Regions from separate parts of the Homo sapiens genome. Here region 1 is linked to region 2. The links are contacts of gene promoters, found by promoter capture Hi-C in blood cells and fetal thymus (Javierre and others, 2016). All regions are on one chromosome and are shown on one strand. The core of a region is centred on a gene start or on the middle of the fragment in contact, and the rest is flanking DNA. Distances in the headings are between cores, read along the strand shown. Region 1 holds the start of TRMT5 (tRNA methyltransferase 5). Region 2 holds the start of ARID4A (AT-rich interaction domain 4A).

The links. The method cuts DNA at HindIII sites, captures the fragments that hold promoters and counts their contacts. A CHiCAGO score of 5 or more calls a contact.
Region 1: the fragment with the promoter of TRMT5 here is called in contact with the fragment with the promoter of ARID4A in region 2 in 1 of 17 cell types (total CD8 T cells); the score reaches 5.0 in total CD8 T cells.

The regions. Positions count from the first base shown.
Region 1 is chr14:60,978,896-60,986,256 of GRCh38, forward strand. It overlaps TRMT5 (tRNA methyltransferase 5), which reads right to left and starts at 2,184. Exons shown (of 5, transcript NM_020810.3): 1 at 2,068-2,184; 2 at 336-991. The coding sequence starts at 2,078. It overlaps SLC38A6 (solute carrier family 38 member 6), which reads left to right and starts at 2,350. Exons shown (of 16, transcript NM_153811.3): 1 at 2,350-2,487; 2 at 3,613-3,743; 3 at 5,835-5,908. The coding sequence starts at 2,383. RefSeq lists an enhancer at 2,074-2,453. The HindIII fragment of the contact is 5,504 bases long and covers 1-5,154 here.
Region 2 is chr14:58,294,417-58,302,222 of GRCh38, forward strand. It overlaps ARID4A (AT-rich interaction domain 4A), which reads left to right and starts at 4,139. Exons shown (of 24, transcript NM_002892.4): 1 at 4,139-4,284; 2 at 5,382-5,444; 3 at 7,164-7,274. The coding sequence starts at 5,439. PSMA3-AS1 (PSMA3 antisense RNA 1) reads right to left here and starts at 3,721. Exons shown (of 4, transcript NR_029435.1): 1 at 3,539-3,721. RefSeq lists enhancers at 3,369-4,092, 3,389-3,808, 3,829-3,878, 3,989-4,078 and a silencer at 4,709-5,228. The HindIII fragment of the contact is 5,118 bases long and covers 1-4,374 here.

The DNA.
Region 1 (7,361 bases), core at 934-3,433, 2.7 Mb after region 2:
TAGTATTTAACATAGCCCTGAAGGCCTAACAAGTCTTGTGTACCAAAAAGATCTCTCCTCAATGTAGCTGCCAAAGCATGTGATTCAAGTTTAATCTACACTGATGTATTGTTGTACACAAAAGCCTGGACCAGTATTTGGAACTTGCTATGACTAAAGAAGATATTTCAAAATGGCCCTCAAAAGAGGGTATGTAGCTCAAGATCTAGCTTAAAGTTAACATGATAAAATGTTCTGCCTCTGTAACTTGGCATTAAAAAAAATAATTTTTAAAGCTAAAATTAACAATTTGCAAATTCCCTTCAAATACATGAATATTACTATGACACACGTACCAATTAAATGTTTGAAAGGCAGCTGATGATCTCGAAGGTTTAGGTGTGCAATATGTCCAATCCTGCTAAACCCTGAAGTTACATCTTGACCTTCAGGAAGCACAGCTCTCAAGATTTCTTCTGACTTAAAGTGTTCATATGTTAGTTCCAAATTGTATTTAGAGATCTGTGGACTGACATTAAGCTGCTCTAAAACACTGAGTTCTGCTTTCTCAAAGGAATCATGAGTAAATATTTTATAGGGATCCAACATGATTAGTCTACTTTCTTTATCTTCCGGATCTTCAATCACACGTCTTATGCCTGGGCGCTGCAATGCTGCCCTTTTTAGGGATCGCATCAATTTACTGACTATTTCTTTCCTCACTTTAAGCACTGGAATGTTGACTGTCTTTTTAAAAGCTGTTCTATCAAGTTTTGTCATGCCTCGGACATCAGAAGGTGGTGAAAACAATTCAGTCTCTCTCTCATGTGTTTCTGTTTCTGGCATGGTTGAGAATCTTTTTCTTTGACCCAATAAGAAAATACCAGGTGCTTCCAAAAGCATCTGTGTCAGGGATGTCCAAGCTACTGGAATCAACGATTTTGATTCAGTTATGCTATGGCTTTCCAGTTTCAGAAATCTTCCTGAGAATCCAAATGGCCTCCATAAGATCCTTAAAAAAAAAAAAAAAAAATTCACACACGACAGCTTTTGAGAATAAAAATCTAAATTCTACTATCTCAAATAACGGGCTAAATGCTGACAAATAAAACGTTTAGTGATGTGTGGGAAGTATACTATCTTTTCCAGACTAGGATGACTTCTTCAGGAAGTCGTATTAGTGGTAGATAATAGTGGTATATATTAAATTTACACCTTCAACCCATCTGCTCCCAGTTCAGAGGGCTTAGTGATCCATTAGCCATACTCAATGATCCTCTTCACCCACAATTTTCTAGATAATACATTTGGGATTGGAAGACTGAAGTATGAGTTAAATGGTCATCTGTAAATGAAATAGTCATTATACATGACCATTACTAGTGGTGATATTTATTAGGATAGTCTCATGGGTGCTTATTGTGTCAGATACTGCGCTAAATGCTTTATGTACATTATGAATCTTGGGAGGTGTGCAGTATTGCACCCTCATTTTGTAAATAAGTAAACTAAAGCTCAGACGTAAGGTAACCCACCCAAAGTCTCCCAGCTGATAAGTGGCTAAACATGGATTAAAACCTAGTTTTGACTGACTTCGGTGCTTGTGTTCTTAATATATTGCTCTGTTGTTTGTTTTCGATGCTTTACTGCCACATGTCCTGCCTTTAACTAGAGGCTTCTGTATTTTGAGGACGAGAGCTTTGCTGATTGTTATATGCATAGTATCAGTTATTCACTGTCTTCTAAAATACCAAAGAATTTACTTGTAAGGGGAAAGGGCCCTGTCCCAGAATCCTGTAAAGCAACGAAGTCTAACTTCACCGTCAGAGATCAAATTGGTTCTAGCAGCTGACCAGCTGGGTGACCCTGGATAAATTACTATAAGTCTCGGTTTTCCCACCAGTAAAATGTGGCGAAAGGCTTTTGAAACATTCCTTACTATCCAGAACCTCGAAACTAAGCTCAGCACCTAGGCGGGTGGGTGACCTCGCGATGTTTCTGTGCCCAGGCAGCACATGGCAGAGAGCAGCCCTGGGCGGGCTGGTACCTCCCCTGGACCATTAGCCCCTAACGCGGCCGCCACCTCACCAAAGCACCATTCCAATTCCCCACGTCGCTCTGCAGCTGGATCCGCGAGCCGACCCCTCACCTCCCGCTCCGGTACCGATCGGATGTGGGTCGCGGGTGGATGGGCGGGTCTTCTATGACATCATCACTGTTCGCCGCGAAGAGGGCGCGCGTCATCAGATCAAGTCGACTCGCTCCTCTCCTTCCAGGCCCTGGTGAAGTACGGAATGCCGGAAGGGCCGGGCTCAAAGCTCCGCCTCTGGCGCGACCGACGACTGGAGCGCAGGGCAGGGGTAGAGGCTCGTAGATGGAACTGGTAGTCAGCTGGAGAGCAGCATGGAGGCGTCCTGGGGGAGCTTCAACGCTGAGCGGGGCTGGTATGTCTCTGTCCAGCAGCCTGAAGAAGCGGAGGCCGAAGAGTTGAGTCCGTTGCTAAGCAACGTAAGTGGGCTGTGTTCGCTTCCCCGCGCTGACGCCCTCCGGCTTCCCTCAAGTGCCTGCCAAATAAGACCCAGAAAAGGAGGACCGCACCGGGACAGGGGAGATGCTGGAGCCTGAACCCTGGGGGATGGGGTCTGAAGGCAGCCGCCGAGATTCAGATGAGATTGGCGCAGTTATGAACGTGATAGCAGCCTAGCATACTCTAGAAAGAAAAGATGAAAAGCGTCGGGTGGAAGAGATGCAGCGTTGAGTGGAAGCTGCGAACATGATGGGATGAGCGGCCCTAGGATTATGTACTCACTGCTGTTAGTTAGTATTTTTGTCACCTTATTTTCTCCACCAGTCTCGTGAGGTCTTTGCAAGAGTCACAGGATTTTCCTCTTCCGACTTAGTCATGGGGGGAGGGAAAATAATAAACATTTTAATACAGAAATTCTTAGCGGTAGAATGGAAGTGGCTTGGTAGTAAGTGCATAGCACGTTCCTGACCCTAAAGCCTGTGCAGTGGGCACTCCGCTTTTTAACTCGAGTCCTAGACACTGTTCCCAGGACTTTGTTCCCGGTGCTGTTTGTGGGGAGGGGGATGTTTTCAGGGATACTGCCAGAACAACGTGAATTGCTTCTGTTTATAATATTGTCATTGCAAGATATTCCTGACCATCCTTCCAGTTTGGTAGAACTAATTCATTAGATATATAAGTAGAGATTAGTTGTGCAGTCCTAGTAATTGAGGAGAAACAACTGCCCACAGCAGTCCCAGGTTGACTCAGCAATTCTTTAGTAATCACATGAGCTGAGGCCTTATCCCTCCTCTCTCTCCCCACTCCATTCCCATCCTATCTTCATCTCTTGCAGTCACAAGGTTAGTCATGGCCCTTCCTGAACTCTGCCTGTCTTGTGTACTGGTGGAAATCATTTTCCTAAGAAACCCTAGATTCCTGGAGCTGCAGTAGTGGGAGGTGGGAAGGAAAGGAAAGGAAATTAGTGTTGGTTAAGCAACGAGTGTGTCATACAAACCCTGGTGGTTTGCAGCTTTTTTCCATAATCTTTCATTTATGGAATTTCTTTACGAAATTTTAACTTCACCGTCCAAACATTTAACACTACTAAATTTGTGTGCTTACAGGAACTTCACAGACAGCGATCCCCAGGTGTTTCATTTGGTTTATCAGTGTTTAATTTGATGAATGCCATCATGGGAAGTGGCATCCTTGGCTTAGCTTATGTTTTGGCTAATACCGGTGTCTTTGGATTTAGGTGAGTCTTCATATTTTAGCATCAAATTTTTTTTTCCATTTTGATAATATACGGAGAAGTAGAGAGATAGATTCCAGAAGCTGCTATTATACAATTTCTAGTTAGTTATTTCTGGGGTTTTAGCATTTTTCTTGTTATTCTTGTTGCTAGTGTGTACCTTGGAGGGCTACTACATAGCTTCTTAAATACACAGAAGTGTGACTAGTTTTTAAAAATGGGAACTTGATCCACATTTCATTTATAATGAAATATGACACTTAAGAGTGGCATATTCATTGTATCTCCTTGGCCAAAGTGAATCAAAGCCATGCAGATTAACTTCCAAATAGCAATTTTGTGAGTGCAAATACAACACATAATCTTTTCATTCCTCGCTGTCTCTTTGTATTGTTAAGTAGTCTTATTTCACTTTCAGAGGCCAGACATGTGTTTTGTGCCTGTTCTTTTTTATGTTTCAGGACTTAGCTTGTAGGCCAGTTTGCCCAAAATAGAAGACAATCCTGGATATTCTGTGCTTTCATAGTACTTTGTATATTCATTCTGTTATTATAATTGTTACAATGATATGTTTGGAAATTAATGTTCCCACTAAACTGAAATCCTTTACAACTGGAGGTCAAGGCAGGCGGATCACTGGAACCCACGAGTTTGAGACCAACCTGGGCAAGATGGTGAAACCCCATCTCTGCCCAAAATACAAAAATTAGCCTGGTATGGTGGAGTGCGCCTGTAGTCCTAGCTACTTGGGAGGACTGCTTGAGCCTGAGAGGTTGAGGCTGCAGTGAGCCATGATTGGGCTACTGCACTCTAGCCTGGGTGACAGAGTGAGATCCTGTCTAAAAAATTTAAAAAATAGAAAAATCCTTTATAACTGGACCTTATTCTTAGCATCTAGCACCACATGGCTAATAGAATGAATTAACAAATTGGCTTTGTCAGTAGAAGCAGATCTATTTACTAGGAAATTTAAAATGCCTAGGGAGTCTCTTTTATGTTTATTTCCTGCTTTTATTCCAAATTTTTTGATAAGCAAAGCAACTTTTAAGTAACCCAACTTGCTTTTATTATGGAATGTACTCACAAACTTTCATTATTTTTAAAATTAAAAACTATATGTGACACCTTAAGCAAGACATAGTCAGAGGACTTTTTTTTTGATTCTCTTTGAAAAATCATAATTTATGCACCAGGGTCTTACATGCAGATATATACTGCTGAATGTGTGCTCACCCAGTCATAGCAACCATCATTTTTGGTGATGCTAAAGTGTTATTTTGTGAAGTTCCTGATGTCAGTTTAATGACATTTGTACTTTTACCTCTCAATTTTATTTATTAACAAGTATTAACTGGACCACAGAGAGAAAATTTCTTCAATGACTGGGGCAGTTCACTGGGGATAGCTGTATAGAAGCTTGTCCTGCTGGTGTCTTCCTAAAAATGAATAGGAAATTATCTAAGTTTTTTCTTTCACACTGTTGGTGAGAGGACCTCAATCATTACATTGTTTGCACATTTTTCAAATTGCATCATTAGAGGTGTGTTAACTACATTATTTTAATTTAGTTTGGTTTGGAGAGTGTGTGCGTTTAATAGATGCTAGAAAATACAGCCTAAATAAATCTTAAGTACACCTTAATAAGATGAAGGTATGATAAGGAGGTCAATATCACTGGAAGTAGAGGGAGGAAGGGAAAAAGAGAAGACAATGAGATTGCATAAGTAAAACTTCTGTTTAGACTTAAAATAAGAAGAAAACCAGTCATAAAAAGGAAATATTACAAGATTATTTAATGGCTGATTCAGCAGTCAGCAGACAAGACTGCAAAATGAGGAAGTTTGCTTGTATTTTTAAAAAAGTTTGGTTTTTATTTTTTTTTATTTTAAAATCAGTATATTTTCATTTAAATAAAATTGGTAAATACAAAAAAGTAGAAAAGTATCTTCTTAATTTCCTTAATGAACATAATTCTGCTACTCAGAGATAGTTCCTGTGAATATTTGACTGTTAAGCAATTTGTTTTTGTAATGAGACACCATACAAAAGACAAACTTTTGGGAGGTTTTGACCAGGTGTTCTTTTATGTTTTAGCTTCTTGCTGCTGACAGTTGCTCTCCTGGCTTCTTACTCAGTCCATCTTCTGCTTAGTATGTGTATTCAGACAGGTGAGTAAAAATGTTATGCTGCTTCATTTAATAAAGGAGTCTCTTGAGTTTGTATCTACATATAGAACTGGATGTCTCAAATCTAATATCCAGTGAGCATACATTTTTATTAGATAGGGTGATCGGAATGGAGAATTTGAAAAACCAGGATATACAGACCCAATACTGTGGGGGAATATCCAAGCACAGGATGGGAGGAGGTAATTAGCATTTTTACCTGCTTTCCTCCACAACACAACCTAATTTTCTGGAGTAGAGTAGATCATGGGAGGGTCTAAAAGGTGTTCAAAGGATCCAAACCTTATGCTTATGGAGAAATCATTTTCTCAAGGAGAGAACACCTTCTCAGAGCTACTGTTGCCTTCCCTGCCCCCATCTGCCTGCTAGTCAGAGGTAGGGATGGCAGAATTAGGATTGTAGGAAGTAAGGTCACAAAGCTTTAATTTATTTAGACACATTTTGTATTTTTAATTGCAAGTCTAGAATAGGGTAGTTTTTTCCTAAGAGAAATAAGTATGTGCAGTTAATTCAATATATTTGTGTATATACTTTTTCCCATTTGGAATTTTATTATGCAATTCAGTCATGTATTGAATAAGTTCTTTTAGGATCCAGTAAATAAAAGTATATGAATTATAGAAGTGCTTTTCTAAGATTTTCCTTTTGTCATTAACAAATATTCTATGTTCATCAGTCCTGGTCTTTTTATCTGTCTAGTCTCTTTTGTCTTTGGATTAGGTCAGCTTTGATGCCAAAATCATGGGTTTAATTCTTATATGGATGAGTTCGTTTTGCTTTATCTGGCCTTGTGATGTTCAGATTTTAAGAAGAAAAGTAGATACACAAAATAGATAAAAATGGATTTCTTAATTCATTTAGTGTTTCTATAAAAGAATACCTGAGGCTGCATAATTTATAAATAAAAGAGGTTTATTTTGCTCATAGTTCTACAGGCTCTGCAAGAAGCATGGCCCTTCTTATGAGGGGCTTTTCTGCTCCATCTGCATCTAGTAAGGGGCTCAGGCTGCTTTCATTCATTGTGGAAGGTGAAGGGGAGCTAGGATATGCAGAGATCACATGGCAAGAGAGGAAGCGAGAGAGGAGGGGCATGCCAGGTTCTTTTTAACAACCAGCTCTCATGAAACTAATAAAAGTGAAAACTCACTCATTACCCCAAGGAAGGCACCAAGCCATTCATGAGGGATCTGGCCCCAGGGCCCAAACACCTCCCCTTTGGCCCTACCTCCAACACTGGGGATCTGATTTCAACATGAGATTTGGAGGGGTCTGACAAACCAAACTATATCAGTGAGACTATTCTGTGCTGAAACAGGTGAGTGAAGCCCAGTGATGTTTCTTAAGAATTTTAAGACTCTTCAGAATAATTCTGAAGCCACTGCTCTAGTTTGTTTTCCTAAAACCTGTCCATCATCAGAAATACTCATAGATCTTT
Region 2 (7,806 bases), core at 2,889-5,388:
TATGGCGGATGAGGCAAAATGTCACAGCCCAATTTGTTCAACTTTTGAAGCATTGGTTGTGCAACATGTGGAAGGGCATTGTGAAGAATTGGGCCTCTTTCTGTTGACCAATGCTGACTGCAAGCGTTGCAGTTTTTGGTGCATCTCATCGATTTGCTGACCATACTTCTCAGATGTAATGGTTTCGCCAGGATTCAGAATGCTATAGTGGATCAGACCAGCAGCAGACCACAAAACAGTGACCATGACCTTTTTTTGGTGCAAGTTTGGCTTTGGTAAGTGCTTTGGAGAATCTTCTCAGTCCATCTACTGAGCTGGCCATCACCAGTTGTTGTATAAAATCCACTTTTTCTCGCACATCACAATCTGACCAAGAAATGGTTTGTTGTTGCAAAAAATAAGGGATAAGGACACTTCAAAACAATGACTTTTTTTTTCGGTCAGTTCATGAGGCACCCACTTATCGAGCTTTTTCACTTTTTAATTTGCTTCAAATGCTGAAGGACTGTAGAATGGTCCACATTGAGTTCTTCGGCAACATCTCAAGTAGCCTTAAGAGGATCAGCTTTGCTGATTGCTCTTAACCGGTAGTTATCAACTTCTGGCGACCAGCCACTACGCTCCTGATTTTCAAGACTTTCCTTCCCTTTGCAAAATTTCTTGAAACTGCCAGGCACAGCGGCTCAAGCCTGTAATCCCAGCACTTTGGGAGGCCAAGGCGGGCGGATCACGAGGTCAGGAGTTCGAGACCAGCCTGGGCCAAGATGGTGAAACTCCATCTCTACTAAAAATACAAAAATTAGCTGAGCATGGTGGTGCGTGCCTGTAATCCCAGCTACTGGGGAGGCTGAGGCAGAATGGCTTGAACCCAGGAGGCAGAGGTTGCAGTGAGCCAAGATCATGCCACTGCACTCTAGCCTGAAAGAGCAAGATTCCATCTCAAACAACAACAACAAAAAAACTTCTTGAATCACCACTGCACTGTAAGTTAACAGTTCCTGAACCATATGCATTGCTGATATGGTGTCTCTGTTGTTTTACAACCCATTTTTAACTCAAAAACGAAAACTGCTCGAATTTGCTTTTTTGTCTAACATCATTTTCATTGTCTAAAATACACATGAAGGCTGGGCACGTGGCTCATGCCCGTAATCCCACCACTTTACGAGGCCGAGGCAGGCAGATCATGAGGTCAGGAGATCGAGACCACCATGGCTAACATGGTGAAGCCCCTTGGCTCTATTAAAAATACAAAAAATTAGCTGGTGTGGTGGCACGCGCCTGTAGTCCCAGCTACTCGGGAGGCTGAGGCAGAAGAATTGCTTGAACCTGGGAGGCAGAGGTTGTAGTGAGCCGAGATGGTGCCACTGACTTCAGCCTGGCGACAGAGCGTGACTCTGTCTCAAAAATAAAATAAAATAAACATGAAATAAACAGAGAGTAATAAGTCATTACCAAAAGAACAAAGCGAGAAATGCCCATTAAAATGATGTATAACATAACCACATTTATTTAACAACGTAGTCCAACATCAAATGGCAAATTCCAATAATGCAAAAACCACGATTACTTTTGCAACGACCTTCTTAGACACAATATTTTGCAAAACATGTACAAGGATATTCACTGACATATTACTGCCATTATAGAAAAATAAACACGTTACATAAATTATGATATATTTATCCCACAAAACACTATGAAGACATAAAAGATGCTTTACGATAAGATATTTCCAATATTCCCAATGTTTTCTATAAAGAATAGACGGTAATGAACAACACTAGAATATTTGGTAAAACAAAACCAACAAAAAAGACAAAGCCTTTTGTATAATATATAACTATAGTGTAAACCGTAACTACCTTTTGGAGGAGGGAAGACATTTTTGTATTCTTCTTTGGGCTTTTTAATAATTTCCAAATGTCCATGCATTATTTGGATTCAATAATAACAGTTTAAACTTTGATCGTAGAATTATGGATGCTTACCCCCTAGAAAATTCAGTAATATATTGTTTTATAAGGTCTTTTAAAAAACTGCTTCACTCCTACGAGATTGCGCCACTGCACTCCAGCCTCGATGACAGAGAGAGACTCTGTCTCCAAAAAAAAAAAAAAAAAAAAAAAAAAAGCCTCACTCCTAAACACTCCCATTTACAAGATCTTTTCTATATAAGAACTTTTTAAATAGGCGGGTGGGGGGGAGGAAATCACAAAAATACGCATAATGTTTTATAACAAAAACATGAGGTATATCAAAGTCCAGAAATGAGAACCACGTAAATGGGTAAACAAGTCCATAAGGATGTCCTAATTTTGGGATTTCATTCTAAAATATTACACTAGAAAGCTAATTATACAGACTCATTTGAATCTGACCAAACAAAACATCTTTTAACTACCCTTCCTCCCATTCTGGTATTTCTTTACTAATCCATAGAAAGTTTTTCCAGGTAGTCCCCCGCAATTCTAAGGATTTTTAGACTTTATGACTCACCTCAGTAATCACTGAGATGTTCTGTTTTCTTCAGCACAACTGCCAAAAAACCCAGTAATTGTTAAGTCACACAATCATTTTCTAGTTATGGGCGCCACCAATATAGCAGTAGGGTTTAAAACAGAGGTATTGAGGGTAACTATTAGGATCTATCCAGTGTGACTAGGTCACTCACTAGAAATGCCAACATGCATTTCACGTTTTTATGAATACTTTTGAGCAAAATTACTGTTACGAATAAAAAACTGATTCTGCTCGGCTGTTTTCTTACTGAGAAAATTTAGTCCACGTGGATTACTGACGATATGTCACATTTTAAAAATTACTCCATTCTATAAAACTAGTCAATTTTATACTCCAATTCCGCTATTTAAAAATGTGTGTTTCGTTTAACAGAATATAAGATGTTAACAGAAAAAGATCAACGTCTATCTTATCGGGGACGTCCTTTTGTCTAAGATGTTTTCAGTCCCTGCAAAACCACTGTTTGCTTTCAAAAAGTAGCATAAGCCTCGTGCAGAGTGACAGACCCTTGTCTAAGGTCACAGAAGAAGCGTCTGCGCTGGCAAGTAAATTCCTCAGCATCCAGAAAGCCAGCGCTTTCTCCAGTTTCCTCATAGCTTTATCCCGTGAGGAGCACGCGGAAACCTCTACCCATGCAGGATGTTTCTAAGAACCACTTCTTCCCTGTCTTAACTAAGAAGGCTCCCACAGCTGGTGCCAATCAGGTGGAGAACATGGCAAGTCCCCGAAATGCACTTCCAAAGACAGGAAAGATTGCAGTGGGACAGAACCCAGAAAATCTCTCACATTCTCGAAAACCCGAAAGAGAACCTCCAAGAAAGACGTTTGCCTCTCCTCCACCTCTTTATCTCGGCGGGAGAGGAAGCCTCGCCCCCATTCATCCCGCCCCTTCTCCCCACCCCGCCGCAGGGAGAAGTTTACCATGGCTGCCTGCGGCCCCTTCACTTCCGGTGCCGGTGCCGCTAGGGCTGCGCCATCCCCCCAGTCAATCGGACAACCATAGCCTCCAACTGACCTTTCTGACAGCTCTGAGACTCCTCCGGCCACGACTAGGTGCTGTCCTGGAGGAAACGGTGGAGGACGGCCGCACAAAAACCAATCTACCTGATGAAAACTCCGTTCCCTTCTCGCCAGAAACATAAAATGCGATGGAGCTACGGCCACCGCTGCCGAGACAAAATGGCGCCGACAAGCTGGTTTAGCGCAAGCGCCTTGGACAGACCCTGCCCCGCCCCCGTGCAAGCCCCTGGCTGCAATTCTGGGTTCCGTTTCCATGGGACACTCCGCCGCCAATCCTCGTGTCGAACTGCTCTTCCTGACCCCTCAATTCACCAATCAGTGCCCAGTCAAGCACATCCGGAGTCGTCTCTACCAATCATTTCTCAGGACTTGCTTACTCAATAACCAACTCTCCAATAAAGTTGGTTTTCGGAAAAAGCCAATCATAAGTGGAAGATGTCCTACCTGCTGTTTTTCTCACCAATCCATGAAGTTTCACAGCTACATCCAATGAGGACGGCAGGTAGCGAGGTCCTATCCGAAGCTCTTCGGCGTCATGAGCAGCCAATAGGAGTTCGTGTAGAAGCGAGTCTGCTCAACAGCTTGTTATTTGGTGGATTGTGGCAGTAAATCGGGGCGAGTGGGGAACCCGGCGCAGGAACTGCAGCCGCGGCTGGGAGTGGTGCTGCCCGGACGGGGGCCCACGGAGGTCAGAGGGGAGGAGGACTCTGGAGCTGACAGCGCGCACTTCACCCGCAGTTGGTAGGTGGGGAGAGGGGAATCCGGGGATACTGAATGGACGAAGTGGCAGTAGCAGCAGCTGCTGCTGCCCGAGGTCCCGGTGCAGTTGGAAGCTTTGGAGGTGGGGAGAGGGATGCTAGGCAAGTGGCACGGCGAGCGCAAGGGAAGGGGCCAGCCATTGACCAGCGGCAGCAACTGCAGGAACCGCCGCCGCAGTTGCAGCCGCCTCCTCGTCCGCTTCCTCGGGTTCCCGGGAAAATGGCTGTGGGGCTGGCCGCGCCGCTAAGTTTGCTTCCGCGCGGTGAAGAGCGGGCTGCTTGGGGGAGCCGTCCCCCAACTCCGCGGCGCGTCCACCTCTGCGGAGTCCGTGGCAGGACTCGAGGGGCTACGAGCTGATACCTCTCTGGGCTGTACAAAAAGTTGAGGCGGGCGCTGGGAGGAGGCAGCGGCTGCTGCGGTGCGGCTCCCCTCCCCTCCCACACCCTGTCCGGGCCACCTCCCCTCCTCCTCCCCTCCGCCCCCCGCCCCCTCCCCCACGCGGGTCCCCCGGGGCTCTGGCGGCTCCCGGCTGAAGGCCGCGGCCCCTGCCCCTTTGGGTGAAGGAGCGCTTCTCCTTTCTGACATGGTGCAGAGCGAAGGAAGGAGAGCAATGGCGCCGTGACACTCCGCTGCCGCCACCGCGGGCCCGGGGCGGGCCGAGGGGGCCGAGCGGCGGAGGCGGGGCGCGGGCCGAAGTCGGGGTATCCGGGGGACCGCGGAGCGGAGGCTCGGCGGTCGTCTCCGCGGGGGACCTGGGGAAGCCCGAAGGGAGCTCTGGCCTTTTCCGGAGCTATCTGTCCTGGAGCTCCGAGTTGAGCATTCCGGGTCAAAGTGGCCAGCGAGGCGGGGGCGCGGTGGGCCGCTGGCGAGCTCCGGGGCGGAACGGGCTGCCCTTTGGCGCTCGTGGGGTTCTCGCTGCCCCCTCAGCTCCTGCGTCCTGGCTGCCCTCGTAAGGGGTCTTGTCCCTTGGCTGGTGAGGATTCTGCCCCTCCCCGCTGGCGTTTGTTTACTTTCTTTCCCTTGGTCGCTCCCCGCAGTTGACTGATTATGTCTGTGCCTGTCTTTCCCCCTCCCCATAGTTCTAGCGACTGCGAAGATAGCTCGCTGAGCTGGAACCCCACAGATCACCAACAAAAATGAAGGTAAGTGGAGTCAACTCTGCCCCGATCCTCGCGCCCTGAACACTGCCAATCCTAAGGCTAGTGCCGTGGAATGTCATTTGTTTTGCTACTCAAAATTGATGTTCCTACTGATCAGCAGTTTCGGCATAGGAGGATGTGTTGAATGGGTGAAAAATGATCTGTGTGTCTAAATGCGGAGTTTAGGCCCTCTCTGTAGCAGTACTTTGGAAAGGCTGGTGCAGCCTTTCAATTGTTGTCCATTCGGATAGTATTTTTAAACACTTCCTGTGTTGGCAGCAACCTTTGCAGAAGTAAAGCTTTTGTCCTGCTTTGGTTCTTTGGGGGATTTTTTGTAAATTTTTTTTCTTCCCGTGTGCCAATGCGATTTTCTAAAAGAAAGAATACGTGGATTAAGTAATGAAGGTATCATTTCTTCTGTGTGTAAAATGAACTTATGTGGCTAAAATATTTGAAGTTGAAGTATAATAATAGTTTTAGTTAAATCTTTCCAATAAGTATTTTAAAACATATACTAAAAAGATACATATTCTACTGAGGATGACTGCAAATATCAGTATGTGGATGGTTAAAGGGAAAGGATCTCATATAGCGTTCTTGAATGCTGTGGCCATTGAATGTTTCAGGTCAGATTTTTGTTTGCCAAAAGCATTCCTATTCAATTTGTATTTTTTGTAAATGCACTTACTTTAAAAGGTACCCAATTCCTGTCTTATTTACTGTTTCAGCATATTAAGCTCTGAAATATAGCATTTTCCCAAACTTTCTCGTGGTTTTCTATTTTCTCGAAGTAAATGACATATTTAACCTTCTTTAATATTACTTGGGAAAACTTATTAGAAAACAAAAAATCATTTTCTACTTCAAAACGTATCTCCAAAGTGTACACTGTTAACTTTGCACTTAACAATGTTAAGTTGAACTTGTATGGATACACTTTAACTTCCGGAAAAAAAAAAAAAAGGTAAAATGACAGATTGAGATAGCAATCATCCTGTTACTGTAAAAATTAAAATGAGTGGTAGAGTGACATTTCTTACATCTTTCTATGTATCATTCTGGTCGTGTCCATTTGCTGAAAGTAGATGTTTCTTAGTAACGCTTATTTTTTTATACTAAGAAGATTAGTGTGGTAAACTAGGTATACCTACAAGTCTGGAGCCATCAGTTCATATCTGCATTCATCGGCTGAATTCAGACTTAAAACCTTTCAAGTGCAGCTTTTAGCAAATGAATTTTCCAAATGATACTTTCCTTATGAAAAGATGTTACCTTTATGTGGCTATGTCAATAAACAATTATGTATTGTTAGTGTTAATATTAGTAGCAATATTTCTTTTAATTTGAAAAATTTCAGGAAGCTATAAATGAATAACTTAGTTTTATGATATGTGTAATATGAAATATTTTTTCTGTTTTTTTCTTATCTTTCTGCTTATATAATAGTAGAATTTTTGAAAAATTTTGTATCGAGACAAAACATTATTAATCACTGATAATTTTGAATTACAACTTTAAAACATTTTATCATATCAGGACATCAGTCTATAAAATGAAAGGTTGCTAATCAAGTATTTAGGGTATTTTTCAAATTTTCAATGATATTAATAAGCAAGTCATTTTAATATTCTTAATGCTTCAAACACAACCTTTTAATGAGACTTGAGGTTGGAGTAGGGAGGCATAGTAATGACATTCACAGTTTTATGTTCCTTTCACCAGGCGGCAGATGAGCCTGCCTACCTGACAGTGGGAACCGATGTCAGTGCCAAGTACCGAGGTGCCTTCTGTGAGGCAAAGATTAAGACTGTGAAAAGGCTGGTGAAAGTTAAGGTAATATTTGTTTTTATGCAATAGTTTTATTAACTCTAGATTGAAGAAATTTGGGGAGAGAGAGACTGCAAATCAGCATTTTATTGAGTCATTATATGAAAACCCTTTATATACCAAACTTAAAGGAAAAGCACATCAAAAATAAAGAAATAAAAAACTCAAAAGGAGAAATTATTCCAAAATGCTACCATCAAAATACCATGCTCATGATATTTCCTGTCATTTGGCTCTTAACTATTTGTGGTAGCATACTTGGACTGTAATCTATTTTCTCCCCTCATTTAATGTTCAGGTAGAGACAATTTTAGTGTTTAGGACAATACAAATACAACAGGAATTATGTTTTCAAGACAGTGTAAAAAAGCATTTAAAAAGTTTATTTTGTGACTGGGCGTAGTGTCTCATGCCTGTAATCCAAGCACTTTGGGAGGCCGAAGTGGGCAGATCACTTGAGGCCAGGAGTTCAAGAGCAGCCTGGCCAACGTGGCGAAACCCTGTCTCTACTAAAATTGCAAAAATTAGACCCGGCGCG